Regions from separate parts of the Homo sapiens genome. Here all the other regions are linked to region 3. Evidence: promoter capture Hi-C in 16 types of primary human blood cells and fetal thymus (Javierre and others, 2016). All regions are on one chromosome and are shown on one strand. The core of a region is centred on a gene start or on the middle of the fragment in contact, and the rest is flanking DNA. Distances in the headings are between cores, read along the strand shown.

What was found. Contacts are between HindIII fragments. The CHiCAGO score rates a contact against its expected background, and 5 or more counts as called.
Region 1: a contact is called between a fragment that was not itself captured here and the fragment with the promoter of TRIM3 in region 3, in 2 of 17 cell types (activated CD4 T cells and total B cells). The highest score is 6.6, in activated CD4 T cells.
Region 2: a fragment that was not itself captured here is called in contact with the fragment with the promoter of TRIM3 in region 3 in 1 of 17 cell types (neutrophils); the score reaches 5.3 in neutrophils.

What each region holds. Positions count from the first base shown.
Region 1 is chr11:6,713,225-6,715,924 of GRCh38, forward strand. It overlaps the pseudogene GVINP1. Among named protein-coding and RNA genes, the nearest start is that of MRPL17, 31 kb to the left of the region's middle. The HindIII fragment of the contact is 1,706 bases long and covers 406-2,111 here.
Region 2 is chr11:6,637,754-6,640,453 of GRCh38, forward strand. It overlaps DCHS1 (dachsous cadherin-related 1), which reads right to left. Exons shown (of 21, transcript NM_003737.4): 2 at 2,064-2,700. Among named protein-coding and RNA genes, the nearest start is that of DCHS1, 17 kb to the right of the region's middle. The HindIII fragment of the contact is 8,749 bases long and covers 1-2,700 here.
Region 3 is chr11:6,472,677-6,475,376 of GRCh38, forward strand. It overlaps TRIM3 (tripartite motif containing 3), which reads right to left and starts at 1,265. Exons shown (of 12, transcript NM_033278.4): 1 at 1,115-1,265. RefSeq lists enhancers at 1-865, 866-1,804 and a silencer at 1,162-1,391. The HindIII fragment of the contact is 3,557 bases long and covers 102-2,700 here.

The DNA.
Region 1 (2,700 bases), core at 9-2,508, 240 kb after region 3:
CCCAGGTTCAAGCCATTCTCCTGCTTCAGGCTCCCAAGTAGCTGGGATTACAGGTGCCTGCCACCATGCTTGGCTAAGTTTTGTATTTTTAGTAGAGATGGAGTTTCATCATGTTGGCCAGGCTGGTCCCAAACTCCTGACATCAGGTGATCTGCCTGCCCTGTCTCCCAGGGGGCTGGGATTACAGGCATGAGCCACCATGCCCGGCCTTAAAACTGTATACTTTTTGATATTTTTCTTTAAGTAATCAGTTTAAAATAATCAATGAATCATTTTAAAATAACCAATCTAATTGAACCTTGTCCACAGACTTCATTAAAATGGTACATTTTATTTGGTCATCATAAATTTTTTTCCAAAAGCCAATTCTCAGACTTGTACATAACACCAAGCTTTGAATAACAAAGCTTTGTGACTGTTTTTTTTTTTTTCTTAGCATGCGCAGGGAATTGCCAACATACCAGGGAAGAACAGGGTGAAAGTTAATGAGAAAAACAGTTATTTGATTTCTACTTTCCATATTTGCTTGATAATGTTTCCTGAATTGATGACATCCCTATCTTGGTCAAGTCTCTGCTTTATTCTTTCCTAGAACAGAATATGCCTAAATATTGCTATGCTTGGGACTCATGAATGTTTTTACATTTAAAGATTAATAACTTTTCCTTAAAACTTTAGAGGGTGAAAAAAATCCACTTAAACATTGAAAAGTCTGGCTGGGCTCAGTGGCTCATGCCTGTAATCCCAGCACTTTGGGAGGCCGAGATGGGTGGATCACTTGAGGTCAGGACCAGCCTGGCCAACACAGTGAAACCCTGTCTCTACTAAGAATACAAAAAAAAATAGGAGTGATGGTGTGTGCCTGTAGTTCCAGCTACTCAGGAGGCTGAGGCAGGAGAATCACTTGAACCCGGGAGGTGGACGTTGCAGTGAGCCAGTTTATAGCTTTCAGTCAAGACATGTATATTGGTTGAAATACTGATACAGTTATTCTATAGAAATTTGTTGCAGCCTGAAATGATTTTGATTTTTCTCTGTTAAAATGACTTTCTCTGATACTTAAATATTTTAAAATAAAAAAGCAATATCTAGAATAATAGTTTAAAATACAAAATAGGTTTCTAAAATGAATGTTATTTGATTTCATCATATATTAACAGATTTTAGTAAGTTGTTTTTAAACTAGAGGAATTGAGGCAGAGAGAAATGAAGTCCTTTTACTGGAAATTTTCATCTCTTAATGTGTTAATTGATTGATTTTTACACATTTCATTTTAAACATGGAAATGATGAAGGTTCTAATTGTAATGAGTAGTTGTTTTTGGATTGTTCAGGTACACTGCCTCTTTTCTTCAGACACTGGGGCTCTTTTGTGGTCACTGAGTATTACTGTTTTTTCAAGTCTTCAAGCACATCTTGCTTTGTGATTTTGGCCCATGCATTGGGGATTTTACCTTTACCTGCAAATTTTTTCTGATATTTTTCTTCTAGATTTGATCTGAAGTGAGAGACAAACCATTTCCAGTATAGCTGGATGGAGGTATCTGGGGTGATGCTCCACATGGCATAATCCCCTCCTGCTTGTCGATAGTTCTTAAATGGGAAATTCCTGCCATCCCTCAAAACCAACAAACAATCACTTGCAACCAAACTAGTACAGCAATCAATGACAAAATCATCTGTTTCATACCATTCCTCCCCATTGACAGCCTGAGGACGGTGGAAGGGAACACTATGGTCTCCTTCATGTGTAGGAATTGTGTTTGTACAAATTGCTCCACAGCTGGGACACTGTTTCCAGCAGCCACAGAGATGTTCAGAGAGCATTTTCTCAATTTTAGAAACCATTGCTTCTATAGGCTTACTTGAATAATTCTGTTCTATTTTCTTCATTGTGAGATCCAAAGCTGCACTCATGGCTTCTTTAAGAAATTCAGTATGTTTTATCTCCTGGTGTTCAATGCTTATCAAGTCCCTTCGTGGAAAGATCAAGTTGCACCCCAGGCAATCACAGAATAAATCCAACCACTCAGAAGCAGTGCTGCTTTTATCTTTAGCTACTGATGTGGATTCATGGATGGCAGAGAGGATGGTATTCTTGATATCAATTAAGCTTTTTTCAAAAAAAGTCTTCATTTTTTCACCTCCATTGTCTGAACAATATCTTTTAATATGATTTTTGATGTAACTCCTAAAAAACGATTTTGAATTATGAAGGTATTCCCAGTAATTATCAAAGTTTTCTTCTTCTGCCAGAGAGAAGAGAATGTGTTTCTCCAGGTTAGTCCTGTTTCCATTGAACGCAGGGCAGGTAGCTCGCATGTCCCCCGCAATTTTAAAGGTCATGTCCTCCCATATAGTAGTGGAGACTGCAGGAGTGAGCTTATACCACAGAACATCAACAAATGTTTTGATGGAGGTTGCTCCTTGACAGGAGATCTTAAAACTCGTGAAGAAATCATCTTTCTTACTTTCTAGGTAGTTTACAGGATCATTTGCTCTCTTGAATGCCCTGTGCATTTCCTTAAAATTCTCTCTTGCTCTTTGAAATAAACACACACATAAGTCAATGATAAATGTATTTGTAAATGTGTATCTCTTCTGAGTAGAGGCAGATTTCACTTCTTCTTCTATTGTCTTTAGAATCTCATGGAAATAATTTGGATTGTAACCACACTGTTGTTTCCACATGTTGTTAAT
Region 2 (2,700 bases), core at 12-2,511, 170 kb after region 3:
TTCTTATTGGAATGAAACTATTTCTTTGCACATGAATCTCCCCTCTATAAACTCCTTAAGATGAGGGGAGTGACGCATTCATGACTGTATTCCGTGTCTCTAATACAGTGACTAGCACATGGTAGACATTCAATACATGTATATTGAATAAATCAAACATTAAGACTTCTTGTGACAGTTGTAAACCCCAAATGGTCATTTTTACCCCGATTCTCTATGGTTACTAATAGTAAAAACTCCAGGAAACCACCTGGAGAGTTGCCCTCTTGCTTCAGGCACTAGTGAGGAGAGAAGTCTGGAAGCCATAGCCCATTGGTCCTGGACAAGAAGGAGAGTAAACACGTGGAAGAGTGGGTGGTGGAGCTGCACAGCAGCAGGCGAGCAAATATGCAGAGTCTGGCCAGAGGACAAGAGGTCAGCCAGGCCCAGAGCTAGCCTGGAAGTCTATGCCCTGAGGAGATGTTCAAGAGTCTGGTGGAGTTTGGAGACATAAGGACACTAAGCACCAGCCTCCTAAGAGGACTCCCTGCCCACTGTCCTCTCTCCTGCTGCCATTCTCCACAGTGCAGCCAAAGCAATCTTTCTTAAAGACATATCAGATTTGCTTAGAGTCCTTCACTTGCTCCCTATGATTTTCAAGATAAAGTTGAATTTGTGACCTGGCTCCTGTCTACTGTCTTTTCTCATCTCCCCCGACTCTTTCTCATTAGTACAGCTGATGCCAGCCTGAACAATACAGTCTCCTGAACACGTCCTGGTATTTGTTCAGCAGCTCTTTCCTTAGGCCTGGAGTCTCCATCTGCACACCTCATATTATCCATTTGGCAAAGTTTCATTAGTTCTTCAAGGCCCCTCCTCTGGGCTTCCACAGCACTCATACGCCACCTGCTGCAGCACTAGTTGCTGATGTGTCTCCCTATCTAGACTGTGACCACCCTGGGAACAGGATTGTCTCTTTTCTTTGTTCTCTGGGCCTAGCACAGTGCTAGGCTTACAGTAGTTAAATAAAATCTTGAACATATGAATCAAGGAACGATCTGTCACACACCTGCTGATCCAATCACCCTTAAAGCCAGATAGCTAACTTAATAAAACCCAACCTGATCATTCACTTCCCAGCTCAAAGAAATTCAGTGATCTCCTCGAGGGCAGATCAAGACCATCCTGGCTAACACAGTGAAACCCCGTCTCTATTAAAAATACAAAAAATTAGCTGGGTGTGGTGGAGGTGCCTGTAGTCCCAGCTACTTGGGAGGCTGAGGCAGGAGAATGGCGTGAACCCAGGAGGCAGACTTGCAGTGAGCCCAGATCATGCCACCGCACTCCAGCCTGGGCAACAGAGCGAGACTCCGCCTCAAAAAAAAAAAAAAGAAGTTCAGTGAGCTCCTTTGCTTCCCAAGTAGTCCTAACTACTGCTTTGTGTTCAAGGACTTCTGCAACCTGGCCTCAGAGTGCCTTTCCAGTTTCATGTTCCCTCCATTTCTCCAGGACTGACTTGCAGCCAGTATGTGTCTTTCTCAGCCTGTCCAGGGTTCCTGCCTCTTCCCCTGAGAGGCCTTCCTGCTCTGGATATTGAGATAATTCTTGCTATCTCTCATTCTCATGTCTGAGACCAAATGGCCTATTAAGGCTCAGCTCTGAGGGCAGGGATGAGGATTTCTTCCAGCACAACCCAGCACTTGACAAGCAATGGAGGGCCCCATAAATTCTGGTGTCTTCTTTGGGGAACAGAAGCCACATACGTATGTAGAATCTCCATCTCTGCCCTGCAGAACAGCTTTGAGGCTTTCATTTCCTGACACCACAAATCATTTCTCCACTAGATCCAATCTTAATTTCCTCACCTGCCAAGACCATCTGCCTCAGCTCTTGCACCCTGCTTTCTCATCTTCTCATTAACCCTCATCCTCTGCACAGATTTTGGAGCTTACAACATAGGGCAGAACCCTCTAGCATAAGTCACCATCAACAGATGACCTTGTAAGGCTTGGTTCCTGCTCTGAGGTCCCCTGTGGCTCTCAGATTCCCCCAACACTATCTTGCTATGTGCCAGGCCTACCCACCTGCAGGAAGCAAGTTCCAGGCTGGGTGCCCTCAGGCAGTGAGGCATTGTAGAAAGTCCTCTGGAATTGGGGCTCATTATCATTCACATCTTGCAGGGCCACGCTAACTGTGGCAGAGGAGGCTAGAGGGGGCAGGCCACCATCTGTGGCCACCACAATCAGCTGTGGCTGAGGTTCCAACTCATAGTCCAGTGAGGCAGCCGTAGTGATAATGCCTGAGGTGGGGTCAATGGAGAACCAGTGGGTGTGGGCGCCAGGGGCTAGGCTATAAGTGACCTGACCATTGGTGCCTTGGTCAGGATCCCGAGCAGTCACCCGCACTACAAAGCTGCCAGGCAGCGCAACCTCAGGCAGGGGCTCAGGTCGGTAGAGCTGGCGGTCAAAGGCAGGTGCATTGTCGTTGACATCAGTGACGTGCAGCACAAAGGCAGCCTCAGCCCGCAGTGGAGGTGAGCCTGAGTCTGTGGCTGTAACCCTCAAGTTATAGGCATCCCTCTCCTCTCGATCCAGCCGCCGAGCCACACACACCAGATAGATGACGCTGTCTTGGGTGCTTAGGGCAAAGTGGCCCTCTCCACCTTCCAGGGACACATTGACATGGGCAAAGTCACCATCATCTGGGTCTGACACAGAGATG
Region 3 (2,700 bases), core at 15-2,514:
CTCTGCAGTTCCCTTTCATCAGAGAGAGATGCAAAAGTAATGGCAGTAACAAGACAAGTGAATAAAGTCCCAAGAAGAGAGACCTCTGCTTAATATAAGGAAGCTTTTCCACAGCAGAAAGTAGCAAGTGCTCTGTCACTGGAGGCATACAAGCCCAAGGAGGCAGGGCTACTGTCAGGCCTGCAGCTCTGATTCCAATTCTGCAGCAAATCATCCCCTGCTTAGGGGATGAATGGGCACCAGTGAGCTAGACAGACTGGCCAAGGGAGACCTGTGATGTTTTCTGCACCTGCTGTGACCTCCCAGATGTGATCTTCCTGCTAGGGCCAGTCCTGAGTTTCTGTTGTCCACATCAGAGAACCCCCACACCAAGAACAAGCCCAGGGCCTGCCCTCAGTCGAACTGACCTCCCTGGGGTGCAGCCTGCCCCTCCAACCTGCAACCATCTGTCCCTGCAGGTTTGCAGCCCAGGATCTGAAGCCAATTGCAGAAGGGAGGAGGTCAGAACCAGGGAGGGGCCTGGGGTCCTCCAGGCAGGGCTCAGGCTACAGGAGAACCAGAGGGGTCCTTTCCTACAAAAAAACAGCCTCCACATGAGGCTTTCTGTCCACAGAGCAGTGCATGGGGAGGAAAGGGTGTCCTCCATCCTGACTGGTGGGCCTGTGGGTACCAGAGGATGGAAGGGGCGGGGGGTGGGGTAGGGTGGGGGTGGGGGAGCAAGGGGTGGAGGTGTCTGCACCAGGGAGAAAAGAGCCCTTCAGACAAGATGGGCCACAATATTCCAGAGTCCCACTCAGCACGCACCACCACCACCACCCTCGGCCGCAGCGTTCAGCACCCTCCGCCAACACACACAAGCTCCCAAACCCCGCGCTCCCCTAAGGAACCATCACCCATCCACCCGCGCCTCCCCGCCTCAAAACAGGGACCTCACGTGAGCAGCCACAGCCCGAAGAATCCCCCTGCTGCTCTCACGGACATGGACACGCCTCACGTGGGCAGAGAGAGGCACAGCTTTTGAAAATCATCTGTGCCCCCACCCACAGACGCTCCGACCCAGACCCGGGCTGACAGGAATACAAACGCACCCTTGGGGCCCGCCCGTCGCACTCACCGCGTTGGAACAGGATGCGAGGGCAAAGCTCGGACTGCGGCCACTCTGAAGGGCCCGCGGCGCTGCTACTGCTGCCAGCGCCCGTCCGCCCGGCCCTGCCCGCGCCTCCGCCTGTCCCCGCGCCGGCGCCGCCGCCGGACTAGCCGCACAGGCCGGAGGGAGGGGCCGGGGCGGGGCTGCGGACCGGCCGGGGGAGGGGGTGACTCCAGTAGGGAAGACCCACCCACGCCCCGCCCGCCGCCGCGGAGGCCCCGCCCACCCCGCCTGCCCACCCCTACCGCACCCGCACGCCCCCCCGCCAACGCCTCCACCTCCTGCGGACGCTGCCTCCTTGGTGCTGCTAGGGAGCCGGCGGGCCGGCGAGCCGGATCCCGGATCTCGGATCCCGGATCTCCGCCAGCTGCCTCCGGCTCCGGGAAGGGCGGTGTAGTCGGTCTCAGGGATTGAGATGAGACTCCGTCAAGAAAAGGCAGCTGGGGCAGCAGGGATTTCGGACTCTGGGAGCCTGTCTGGGCCGCCTGCCTCCTGGAGGCGCCCTTTCCGGCTTCCTTGGAGTGCTCCTATGGAATATGCTAGTCTATCGGCTGACCAGGAAGACGTAGAAACCGTCTGTACCTCAGCACGATCTCTGGGCGGCAGAAGGGCAGTACCCAGAACTCTGGGAGAAGGAGTTAAGGGGTAGAAAGGTGGGGGATTTGATTAGGCTTTGGGCGCTTCAGGAGCCCCCTCCTGAGGAAATTCTGGTTCAGACCATCCAGCGACTCCCTTCCTCACACCAAAGACACTGGACAATTCTCAGAATCATCGCCTTGTGCAAAAAGCAGCCCCAAGTGGAAAATAATTGTAACAGTTTACAGGGACTGAGTGGTTATTATGTGCCGACACAGAACTAGCCACTTTACATATATTATTTAATAGTCAGTAGGTAGCATCTTTTATTAGCCCAATTTTACAATGGGAAAAAATAGGGATCTTGCTCCCCAGACGTTAGCCCTCATCACTCAGCTAGAAAGTGGCAGAACCTGGAGTTGAGCCCTGTTTTTAGGCCCTACAACCAGCATTTGGAGACTCGGTACCTTTCATGTTGAAAAATCCCCAGTGGCCCATTAAGTGGCAGCTCATATAAGGACCACCTTCCCTGCCCCAAAAATCAAGCTCTAGTCAGATGATTGCAGGCTGATCAAAGCCCAGAAGACTGTCTGGGAGCTGCAGTATCCATGACAAAGGGCAAAGTCATGCCTGTGAGGATCCCTGCACTATGGGAATCTGCTGAGTGGGTCTTCCCCTTCCTCCAGCCTTCCAGAGGTGGGGAAAATCCTGAAAAATTCTGGTTTCCTTGGCCAAAGGGCATACAGGTGATGACACCTAGCCCTGACTAAACCAAAGTGCTGTTAGGGATCTTTCTTGTGACCTCTCCACAAGGTTCAGATTTAGGCTCAACACCTGGGTGCAGCAGGAGCTTTGGGAACCGCCTCAACCTCTTATCCACCTGAGTTCAGCACATAGCACAAGATGCTCCAGTGCTTGTGAAGGAAACCCAGACGGGGATCATGCTTGCAGTTTTGGGCTGGGGCTACTATGCTACC